Regions from separate parts of the Homo sapiens genome. Here regions 2 and 3 are each linked to region 1. The links are contacts of gene promoters, found by promoter capture Hi-C in blood cells and fetal thymus (Javierre and others, 2016). All regions are on one chromosome and are shown on one strand. Each heading gives the region's core, a stretch centred on a gene start or on the middle of the fragment in contact. The rest is flanking DNA. Distances are from core to core; before and after follow the strand shown. Region 1 holds the start of HEATR1 (HEAT repeat containing 1). Region 2 has its middle 3.3 kb from the start of NID1. Region 3 overlaps RYR2 (ryanodine receptor 2).

Evidence for each region. The method cuts DNA at HindIII sites, captures the fragments that hold promoters and counts their contacts. A CHiCAGO score of 5 or more calls a contact.
Region 2: a fragment that was not itself captured here is called in contact with the fragment with the promoter of HEATR1 in region 1 in 2 of 17 cell types (total B cells and megakaryocytes); the score reaches 5.8 in total B cells.
Region 3: a contact is called between a fragment that was not itself captured here and the fragment with the promoter of HEATR1 in region 1, in 3 of 17 cell types (M0 macrophages, M2 macrophages and M1 macrophages). The highest score is 8.6, in M0 macrophages.

What each region holds. Positions count from the first base shown.
Region 1 is chr1:236,603,138-236,607,139 of GRCh38, reverse strand. It overlaps HEATR1 (HEAT repeat containing 1), which reads left to right and starts at 2,624. Exons shown (of 45, transcript NM_018072.6): 1 at 2,624-2,718; 2 at 3,013-3,186; 3 at 3,764-3,980. The coding sequence starts at 3,045. RefSeq lists an enhancer at 2,424-2,683. The HindIII fragment of the contact is 2,349 bases long and covers 2,567-4,002 here.
Region 2 is chr1:236,066,502-236,070,347 of GRCh38, reverse strand. No RefSeq gene overlaps it. Among named protein-coding and RNA genes, the nearest start is that of NID1, 3.3 kb to the right of the region's middle. The HindIII fragment of the contact is 2,633 bases long and covers 366-2,998 here.
Region 3 is chr1:237,564,227-237,568,308 of GRCh38, reverse strand. It overlaps RYR2 (ryanodine receptor 2), which reads right to left. Exons shown (of 105, transcript NM_001035.3): 28 at 1,534-1,742. Among named protein-coding and RNA genes, the nearest start is that of MIR4428, 95 kb to the right of the region's middle. The HindIII fragment of the contact is 1,510 bases long and covers 1,405-2,914 here.

The DNA of each region.
Region 1 (4,002 bases), core at 1,375-3,874:
GAGCCTGGGCGACAGAGCAAGACTCCATCTCAAAACAAAAAAAAAATATTGTCACTAATTATACTTTACATCTTATAAGAAAGGTAAATCTTTTGAAAAAAGTGAAAAAGATTTAATGTATTGCTTTTTAATTTAATTTATATTTTTATTGAAACATTCAAACTATATGTTTGGAATATAATTAAATTTTATTTTTAATCCTTTTTGATCATTATTTCTGATAGAACACAATTACATGAAAATCTTGATCAAACAGCATACATGGTAATTTTGCTGAAATGAAGGTAAATTTTCATGGGCTAAATATATAGGAAATGTATTAACTATAGATGTCTTTATCACTCATCCAAAATAATCAGCCAATCAATAGGACACCCGGACAGGAATGATATAATTAAATGCAATCAGATTTTGCTGATTTTCATCTATGTAAAAACATTTTTATTTTGCCATTATAAATGTTTACTCACCAATATTGAGAGTTATAGCATATCCTAGTTAATAATGTGTTAAGTTAATTTATAACTTTTAAATATTTACACCTACAGCAGTGAGTCCATCTGTACTCTTTCTCAGGCTCCATAAGTCTTAGGGATGGGCTTTATGCCAACGTGCTGAAGCCAATATTATAGTGAGGGAATACAAGAAATAAACAGGTAAACAAACAGACAAATCAGGTCATTTCAAGTAGTGATAATGGCTATGAAGAAAATACCAGCTTGGTACATCTGTCCGTCAGATAAAAATATATAATTCAAGATTATTACATTTTTTTTAAAACCAAAGCTTTTTTTTAAAAAAAAATTACATTTATGAACATCTGACTTGTTTTCCTTTTTACTTTCCAAAGTAAAATTCGGCATGGCACTATACACCATCACAGCTGACATAGGAAGGACTGAGTCAAATCTTTGTAGCACTTTTTCAAGTTTCACTTAAATAAAGCTTTTAAAAAATATATAGGGTATTTTTTAAGCAAAAAAAGCAAATTATCTTATCAATGAAACAGACCTGGTGTTCATTTCTTTTAAAGTACCGAAAGCTGATTGCTTCTGTAAAGGTAAAACTCCTGTGACATGTTAGAAAGAAAAAAAAAATTCCTTTGAGAGATATGTTTGTAAGAATGAAATAGGTACTACTAGAATTTTCATGTTATTCTCTGCAAGGCACTCAACACCACATGAAAAGAAGATTATTAACAGTCAGTAGAAATACTAATAACTGAAGAAAATATTTGGTTGTTTTAAATGCTTTTAAAGCAAACCAACAACAAAAGATTCTGTTTGTAAATGGGAGAGAATCTGCATGAGGTATAGACAACCAGGGCCTCCAAATTTGTAGCTGTGTTTCTGACATTCTCCAGGGAAGACGGTTACAGAAAGACTTGACCCCCTGGCCCCGCAGAGCTCTTCAGAGAAATTAATGCATCCAGAAAAGACAGAGCATCAGATCTCACTCCTTCGTCTGGAAGACGTCAGTTCATCCTAGTTCTAGCGCATACCGGTGTTTTGGAAACAGATTAGCTATATTCATACATAAGGATACTCTTCCGCAACACTATCTGTAGTGAGGCCAAGACCAGTGGTTGCGGGAATCTTCGCAAACAGGCAAGAGACAATTTTTAGGGGCGATGGAAACTGTCATTTTGACTGGGGAGGTCATTACACCTATACATGCATTTGCTAAAAGTCATCAAACTCTTCCACTGACGTGGGTGTAACCATTGTTTGTAAATTATACCTCAACAGGATTCGATTAATTTATTTATTGAGACAGTCTCGCTCTGTGGAGTGCAGTGGTGCAATCTTGGCCCACTGCAACCTCCGACTCCCGGGTTCCAGCGATTCTTCTGTCTCAGCTTTCCTAGTAGCTGGGATTACAGGCGCCCGCCACCACGTCCGGCTAATTCTTTTATTTTTAGTAGAGACGGGGTTTCGCTATGTTGGCCAGGCTGGTCCCGAACTCCTGACCTCAGGTGATCAGCTCGCCTGAGCTTCCCAAAGTGCTCGGATTACAGGCCGCGCCTGACTATGATTCGTTTTGAAAGAAAAAAATATATGCCATTTACCCCTCGGGAATGGAAACATAGAGGAGTGACAAGATCTCCCCCAAGCTCTGGGGCGGTGGAGTCCAGCATTTATAGATCGGTTTGCACTAGGAGCAGAAGCTCCTTTCACGACAATCTCGGCCTCTTCCCACTTTGTAGAGTGAGTAACAAGCTCGGAGAGATGAAATAATTTGGTGGCGTTAACCCGGCCGACAGGCGCCAGCGCCAGGATTTGAACCCAAACCACGTGACTTCACAACCCATAGCTTTCAACACTACGCGGTGCTGCTGGCACCTAGTAAAGGCTGGATCACTACTGAATGAATGATTCTGGCTACGGATCCTTAAAGCCCACAGAAGGCCCATCCAGAGACCGAAAGCTTCAGACACAAGCCGCAGAGCAGACCGCTAAACCGGAGCTACAGAGGCGAAGCTCAGACTTGAGCCTGAGTCCGGCGGGCTGAGGGGCGGGCTTTCGTCTCGGGAGGCGGAGCTGTCTCGTCGCATTCCCGGCAAGCTTGAACCTCTTCACTTGCCGTAGCGCCTGCAGCAGGAAGTTGCTCTACAGCATGCCTTAGGTTTCCGGGTGAGGGTTGGGCTCCTTGGTACCATGTGGGAAGCGCTGTGAAGAGTTGTTGCCTTCCAAGATATACCCAAATTCCCAGTTCCAGGTAAGCGGCACAGAGCCGCTTGATGTGGCTGCGGATGGGGGCGGCATATCGAGGGAGGGTAAGAGTTTTCCGGATATCTGCGGAATCAGGGTTGAAGGAAAGCCTTGGCGCGGTCGCCGCTACTGTAATTAGTTGTTAACGCTGCTGCCATCGTCTTTGCATCTCCGGGGTCCACAAATCTCAGGACACCCGCGTTGTGTGTCCATGACGGTGCTGAGTGCAGAAGAGAATTGTTTGTTTACGAGGCGCCTTATAATTTCGTAGAAACTTATCAAAGTGCTTACGTTTTTTTAGCCCGTGTCATTAAAACTCCGCTGGCGTGAAAGATGACGTCCTTAGCCCAGCAGCTGCAACGACTCGCCCTCCCTCAAAGTGATGCCAGCCTCTTATCTAGAGATGAAGTTGCTTCTTTGTTATTTGACCCTAAGGAAGCGGCCACAATCGACAGGGACACCGCCTTCGCCATTGGTGAGCCATCTTTTAACTTAGAAAAGCTCTTGGAAGCGTTTGTTTTCTGGATGTTACTGTTTTTTTTTTTTCCCCTTGTTTTCTCTTCTGTCCCGTCCTCTTCCTTAGCAGTTTCTAGCATGTTGATGTATATTTTTAAGGGAAAGAGAACATAACAGTCAGGTGCTTGGTGCTTGAAATGTTTATGAGTAGAGGTATCTGGATTTCACAGATGAAGAAACAAAATTAGAGAGGTCAACTAATATGTCAAAGAGAAGAACAGCTAAAAGGGGGATGGAGGCAGTGACTGGGGTGACGGAGAAGTCCTCTCAGAGGACTGGCCTAGTTATTGTAGGGGATATCCAAAAAAAAAAAAAAAAAAGTGTTCCCTGCCACGAAGTACTTTCTGTTCTAGTAGATGAGATAGGATTTACTCTAAAAGTTGAAAACTAGAAATCAGTGTTTGGGACTGTATTATAAATTATATGTACTTAAAGAATTCAGAAACTTCTTAGGGGTAAGTAAAACTGTAAAAGAGGGGTGGGATGAATTTGCTTACGAAGAATTGTTAAATAAACTGGCCTTTTTTGAAATTTAGGATGTACTGGCCTGGAAGAGTTGCTTGGAATTGATCCTTCCTTTGAGCAGTTTGAAGCACCGTTGTTCAGTCAGCTAGCAAAAACCTTGGAGCGAAGTGTTCAGACCAAAGCAGTAAACAAACAGTTGGATGAAAACATTTCATTATTCCTTATTCACTTGTCGCCTTACTTCCTGCTTAAGCCAGCACAGAAGTGTCTGGAGTGGTTGATTCACAGGTAGCTAATAGAATTACAGAAA
Region 2 (3,846 bases), core at 433-2,932, 540 kb after region 1:
GTATATATATATGTATCGATGTGTCTGTGTGTGTGTGCATGCATGTGTGAGTGTGTGGAGAGAGAGACAGACAGAGAGAGAGAAAGACAGAGAGAAAGCAAACATGGCAAAATGTTAATATTAAGGAAAATCTGAGTATATGGGATATGGGAATATAAGGGTATATGGAATCGTTTTGTATTATTTTTGCAATTTTTATGTAAGGTTGAAAATTACATAAATCAAGATTAAAAATTAAAATAACAACAAAAGGCAAGTGGAACCCCAGCAGTGAATGCTGGAGGTCTGATGATAATGAACCAGGAAAACGTTCATGGGAAAACAGGATGTAGAACTATAGGAATTAAACTTTACCCTGAAAAGCTTGGCATCTTCCCAAACATAGGTGGACATAATTGTGTTTTCCCAAGGTACTTTTTATCCTAATCGCCTTTGAAAACAGAATAAAGTGAACACCAAATCCTGCTTCACTCTCATCCTTTGTCAGAGTGTTTTTTTGTTTTGTTTTGTTTTGTTTTGTTTTTTGAGACAGAGTCTCGCTCTGTCGCCCAGGTTGGAGTTCAGTGGCGCGATCTAGGCTCACTGCAAGCTCCGCCTCCCGGGTTCATGCCATTCTCCTGCCTCAGCCTCCCGAGTAGCTGGGACTACAGGCGCCCGCCACCACGCCTGGCTAATTTTTTGTATTTTTTTAGTAGAGGCGGGGTTTCACCGTGTTAGCCAGGATGATCTCGATCACATGACCTCGTGATCCGCCCGCCTCGGCCTCCCAAAGTGCTGGGATTACAGGCTTGAGCCACCGCCCCCGGCCAAGGGTGTCATTTTTATCTGAGATCACAATTGAGTGTGGGTTGTTTAAAATACTCATGAATTGGCCGGGCTCGGTGGCTCACGACTGTAATTGCAGCACTTTGGGAGGCCGAGGTGGGCGGATCACGAGGTCAGGATATCAAGACCATCCTGGCTAACATGGTGAAACCCCGTCTCTACTAAAAATACAAAAAAAAAAAAAAAAAAAAAAAAAAAAAATTGGCCGGGCGTGGTGGCGGGCGCCTGTAGTCCCAGCTACTCGGTAGGCTGAGGCAGGAGAATGGCGTGAACCCAGGAGGCGGAGTTTGCAGTGAGCCGAGATCGCGCCAGTGCACTCCACGCTGGGCAACAGAGCGAGACTCCGTCTCAAATAAAATTAAAAAAAAAATTCATGAATTAGGCGAATTCCCTGGAATTGGAACACTAATACATTCACATCTATATGACATCTGGAAAATAAAAGAAAGCTCCATGGCCATACATGGTCAGTTACCAATCCTCACAGGAGAGTGAGATTAGAACAAATGCCTCCTTCAGAGCAATAGCCAATTGAGCTATTTTCCCACTCAGCTGCCTGGACTTTTGTCTGAATCGTCAGAGAGAAGAGTTACCTTGGGGCCGGGTGTGGTGGCTCACAACTGTAATCCCAGCACTTTGGGAGGCTGAGGCAGGAGGATCACCTGAGGTCAGGACTTCGAGACCAGCCTGGCCAACATGATGAAATCCCATCTCTACTAGAAATACAAAAATTAGTCGGGCGTGGTGGCATGCCTGTAATCCCAGCTACTCAGGAGACTGAGGCAGGAGAATCACCTGAAACTGGGAGGTGGAGGTGGCAGTGAGCCGAGATCACGCCACCGCACTCCAGCCTGGGTGACTGAGGGAGACTCCATCTCAAAAATCAAACACACAAAAAAAGAAAAGTTACCGTGGCTTCTTATAGACACACAGCCTGAGACCTGCTTCTTAAATTTTGTGTTTCTGCCTCATCAGGATGACAGCCATCAAGAAAAGAGTATAAATCTCAAAAGAGCAAGGTTTCATTTTTTTTTAAAGCTGGTATATTACAGAATTATGGGTACCATTGGTACTGCAGATATCAGATGATTCTTAAACATATCAGTGAGTTCTTAAATGGTTAAGAACTGTGCACATTATTAATGTGTATGCAGCATTGGGCTAGGCTCTGCGAAGTCAGGAAAACAAATAAAGCACATGGGCCTTGCCCCCAATGAGCTCTTATCCCCGAAAAACATACGAAATGACTAGAGAAAAAGACCGAATTATTATATACACTTAGAAAATGTCCAGAGCACAATATAAAAGTAAGTATTCGATGATGAATGTGTTTGGAACTACTAATTCTAAAGGAGTGACAGGGACACACTGTCCTAGTAGGAGACACAGCATCAATATTACGTCCTACAAGGACTGGGCAATGTGAGGCGAGTGCAGGGCTATAAATAGTAAATGACAGAGAATTTACCGTATATACTGGACTTACTCAGGCCAAGAGATACTGATGAAATAAAGGAGCACAAGCATGCACAGATAGATCGTGAGCATTATGTATAAACAATGGAGCAAATAGATCTTGTGGGTGGAAATAAAGGGAGAAACCTTTCCTTCCATAGATGGGCAGGATGGCGCGGCAGAAAGAATAATAGCTTTGGTGTCGGACAAACTGGATTCAAATCCTAGCTCTTTCACTACCTGTGTAAAACTGGGCAAGTTATCTAATCATTGCAAACCTTGTTTTCACTACATAGGGCTACTAGCTTGTGCAGTTATTAGTATTAAATTGAATGCTACATTAAGCATCTAGCAGAAGCAGCATTCAACAAGCGATATCTCTTGTTGGTTTGTGTATTTCTTAAAGCATCGCACTGTTATTGTTGTGTTTGTCTCCCTGATAGATTGTGAGCTTCTCAAAGAAAGGACTGTGCCTTAACGGTCTTGGCATTTTGAATTTCTAGTATAGAATCTGGCTCATGGTAGATTCTCAGTAAATATTGACATAATAAGAATCACGAAAACTGTACATTTAGGTAACAACGATGGTTTGATATTAACGGAATACTTACTTTGTGCCCAGCTAGGAGCATTTAATGAATCACCTTATCTAATCCTCACGACAATCCTTCGATTTTAACTATGAACATCCCATACAAGTGACAAGGATATTGAAGCTTAGAAACCTGCCCGTGCTTATACAGCCAGTAAATGGAGAGCCTTGACCTCAGCCAGGTTGGATTCAGGCTGTGCTGAACCAGCAAAGTAGAGAACTGCTCTCCTCCTGTAGTTGCTGAGGAAAGTCCCATGGATGGACCAATAGGAGTTTCAGAAGCTGCCTGAGTACCAAAAAGGGAGAGAATTCGTGAGAAGGGTAAGAGCATTCCAGGCACAGACTACAGCTTCAGAGACAGCTCTGATGTGTGACAGAGGCTGGGGTGGGGTTTTTTGAAGGAGGAGTGTTGAAGGCACAGGCCAAAAAAGGCCTACTGAGCTTGGGGTTTCCCTCAACCACAGGGCATGGGGAAGTCGTGGGGCCCGTGTCACGTGCGGGTGAAGATAGAGAAGAATCTCCATACAGAGATCCTGTAGCAGCTGAAACAGGCAGTGCTGGGGCCCAGAAGCCCAGAAATAGTCAGAAACACAGATGGCATAGAGTAGAGTCAGAAGTGCTTCTGGGGAGCAGGCTGGGGGCTCACAGTGCTGTATTGTTGGGAGGGAACTGAAGGAAAAGCACCATATTTGACAACAGACTGCAGGCTGCAGTAAAAGGTAGTAAACAGAGGGCACTTAATGCAGTGGTTATAAGTGGGGTCCTTGCAGCTGGAACACCTAGGGTCACTTACCGGCTCCCAGCTGCATGACCTTAGCAACATGACTTAACCTCTCTGGGCCTCTATGCCCCTTCTCTGTAAAACAGGGAAGGTCTGTTTCCTAGGGTTACTGTGAGTGCAAAATGAATGAATACTTGTAGAACACATGCTGTCTCTGATGGGTAATAAATGTTATTTCTGATGGCGAATGAAT
Region 3 (4,082 bases), core at 910-3,409, 960 kb before region 1:
TCGCCAATGCAAAGCAATGACATAATTCTTCTTAATATAACACACTGTCTTTTTAAAAAAGTTTACATCAGGTATCAAAAGGCATAAAATGCCCAACCGACTTACCTGGCTGTGGTGTTCTCCTTCCTACCCCACCCACCCCATGCCTGTTCCCAAATCGGGAGTATCCTTTCTTGCCTATCATTTGACTGGGAGTAAAGGTTATTTTAACTTCCTCAGGTTACTTCCCACTCTGGTTCATTACATCTGATCTTCAGGAGGTATAAACCTAAAGCTGCCTTTTATCTGTTATTTTATTTTTTGAAGTTTAAAGTTTGCTAATTTTGACCGCCCCCCAACCCCCCAAAAAAGTGTTAAATTTTTCTATTTGAAATTTTTAAAAAACTGGATTCAGGAAATGTGATGTTTCAAAACTAAGTGGGTCAACTGCCCTAATTTCAAGCCTAGAAATGCTTTCCTACACAGGACATTTCACTCCAAGAAATATCCAAACGTCAAATCTCTTCATGATTGCTTATTTATTCTAATTTTATTTTTCTTGGTTAAAAAGTAGCTTTTTCCCCCTCATGTGAAAAGGAAAATAAATTCACTTAAAAAATAAAAAAAAAAGAAGACTTTAAAAAAATCTATGATTTTACCAATCAAAAGTGACTATTATTATCCTATTGTGGCTATAAGCATATATACCTTGTTGTTATTATTATTTTTTTGTTTGTTTTGAGACAAGGTCTCACTCTGTTGCCCAGGCTGGAGTGCAGTGGTGTGATCATGGCTCATTGCAGCCTCGACCTCCCGAGCTCAAGCAATCCTCTCACCTCAGCCTCGTATGTAGCTGGGACCACAAGTGCACACCACCATGCTTGGCTAATTTTAATTTTTTTTTTTTTTTTTTTGTAGAGACAGGATCTTACTTTGTTGCCCAGGCTGGTCTTGCACTCCTAGCCCCAAGTGATCCCTCCATCTCAGCCTCTCAAAGTGCTGGGATTACAGGCACCTCGCCCATATTACTGATCAAAATATTTTACACATGTAAAAGAATCTTTAAACATTTATTAGTATATAAATAACAAAATAAACACCTGACCAGCTTCCATCCAACTTAATAGAAATTACCAATAATGTTGAAAATGAAAACCGTTTGTGATTATAAACAACACTACATTAAGCATTGTAGCTATTAAATGTTCATACAAACCACTAATTATAGCTTAAAGATAAACTCCTGATACGGAATCGCTGCGTCAATGTATATGCATTTTTCCTCTACATATGTATCTTTAACATTTTGATAGACAAAGATGATTTATCTTTTTGATAACCATGGAAAAGCAATGTCTTACTTGGTGAATTTCACTGCATTCATGGGTTGTAGGGAAGGGTTTTGAGACTACGAGGACAAAAGCTTTCCTGTGAAATATTTTTCCACGTTTGTGCTGTGGGAAACACTGGTACTGTGAAGCTACCAAGAGGAACAGCAGAGGAGATGAGCCTCCAGCACGTACAGATGACTGGCACAGGACAAAGTCCACTCACCTTGAAGCCATCAAAGGCAAAGGCACGTTCATCTGAGCCAAGCTCCTGATCCGGTTGACAACCAGGACGACTCCAACCAACCCTCATGTCTCCAGCAGTGACCGTCTCAAATTCAAAATACCACCGTCCGGCCTTCACTGCATAGGTCTTCTCGGCACGGAAGATTCGGAACCTTTCCCCGGTGCCGCTGCACACTTCGGCTCTGGCTGCTGGGAAATGGACAGAGATTTCTGGTGGTCATTGGATGGGGAGGTGAAAGAGAAGGAAAGATATCATAAATAAAAGAAGGAAAGATAAATCACGACTTTAGTAATTCAACCTAGAGCGATGATGATAATGATACCTTCTTATCTTCTTTCCCATTTTACCAAGTGCTTTCTGATCTAGGATCAGCCACTGTCAGACCAGCTGGGTGAAGTGGAAAGCACCAGGGCTTGCGCTGGAGAGACTGGGGAATGAGTCTCCGTCAGCCTCATTTTCAGGAGGGAACGACCTTTCTGTAGAACAAAACCCAAGTGCCTTGGTGCTTTGGTTGTGGAGGATGAGATGGAAAGAAGTCAATAAGAAAAAAGATCCGAACTGCTCTGCATAAGAAATGAGTAGACATGTACGGGTGAGAGAGAAGAGGGAAGACGAAGCAAGGAAGAGAAGAGAAACAGAAATAAGGGAAAGTTGTAAACAGTGGAGAAAAGTAACAATAGCATCAATAGTAAAAATTTCCCTACAGGATGGTGATGGCTAAGGAACTCAAATGTGATGCAAAATTTTTCCATTCTCGCATACATCTTCACTGTGATCTGCTATACATACAAATGCTGTATTTAAAAGATCTGGGGGAAAAATAAAAAGGTCAGCATCCAACATTAGGACCAGTGTGATGCAAAAGGGGGAAAAGTATCCCTAGGAAATGAGATGCAGGTGAGATTGAGAGAGACGAGAGGGGGAAGTCTCAGAATGAGGAACCCAGAGCCAGAACGACGATGAGAAGGTAAGTCCTTCTGAAACCACAGAGGAGAGGAATGAGTGTTCATTGAATTGATATCTCAAAGAAGGTGGTCACCCAGCTAACATCTGAGTTAGATGCAGAGGAGGAAATTTCAGACTTGACCAACATCGCACAACTAAAAATGGTGGAACTTGGGAGCTGCTTCATGTTATAGCCCCTCTTCTTCCTACTTTGCCTCCAATAGCTCGCACAGAGTTACTAGTTACTGGTTAAATGCTAGTTTTCAGCCAGGTGTGGTGGCTCACAGCTGTAGTCTCAACACTTTGGAAGGCCAAGGCGGGAGGATCGCGCCCGGGCAACATAGTGGTACCCTGTCTCTACAAAGAGTTTAAAAATTCAGCCAGACATGGTAGTGCATGCCTGTAAGTCCAAGCTTCTCAAGAGGCTGATACAGAAGGATCACTTGAGCCTAGAAGGTCGAGGTTGCAGTGAGCTATGGTCGTTCTACTGCATTCCAGCCTGGGTGATAGAGTGAGATCCTGTCTCAAAACAAAACAAACAAACAAAGAGAAAGAAAGAGAGAGAGAGAAAGAAAGAAAGACAAAAGAAAGAAAGAAAGAAAGAAAGAAAGAAAGAAAGAAAGAAAGAAAGAAAGAAAGAAAGAAAGAAAGAGAAAGAAAGAAAGAAAAAGAAAGAAAGAAAGAAAGAAAGAAAAAGAAAGAAAGAAAAGAAAAGAGAAGAAGGAAGTTCCTATTTGTTTCTCCTTAAGATTTGGGAAAGACTTTATGCATAATAAAAATTTAATAACAGTTCAATCAATGACTTGGTATGATCAAATTAGAACTATAAAAATAATCTATATAAGCACTAAAGGTTGCCAATAAACATACAGCTAGGTCATATGTAACAATTTAAAATGAGATGAAGTAAAGCAGTGGAGACACCATGGCTGTAGCATGAGATGGCTCCCTATCACATGGGCTTAATTAATGAAACGATCAATAACTGCTTTTTTGATAATGGTGGTAGTGCTTACTGAATGTAGAACTAACTGAATCTGCTGGCTAACCCTTCAGAAACTAGCTTAAGTCTCTGAATCAGAGAAACATTTCTATGGTTAAGGGTAAATTCTCATGCCTATTACTTGGTAAGTAAATATATTTTGAAAAATAGGATCGTAAACGTTGTTTTGAGAGAAAAAAATTCTATCAGATTTTATGATATTTAAAGGTAGTTTGTGCTATTAAGAAACTAGTTCTTGGCGGGTCGCGGTGGCTCACACCTGTTATCCCAACACTGTGGGAGGCTGAGGCAGGCAAATCACTTGAGGTCAGGAATTCGAGACCAGTCTGGCCAACATGGTGAAATCCCATCTCTACAAAAAATACAAAAATCATCAGGGCCTGGTGGCATATGCCTGTAATCCCAGCTACTTGGGAGGCTGAGCAGGAGAACTGCTTGAGCCCGGGAAGCAGAGGATGCAGTGAGCCGATACCATGCCACTACACTCTAGCCTGGGCAACAGAGCAAGACTCTGTGTTTAAAAAAAGAAAGAAAGAAAGAAACTCGTTCTCAGTGCTGCAATACTAAACAAACAGGAAAG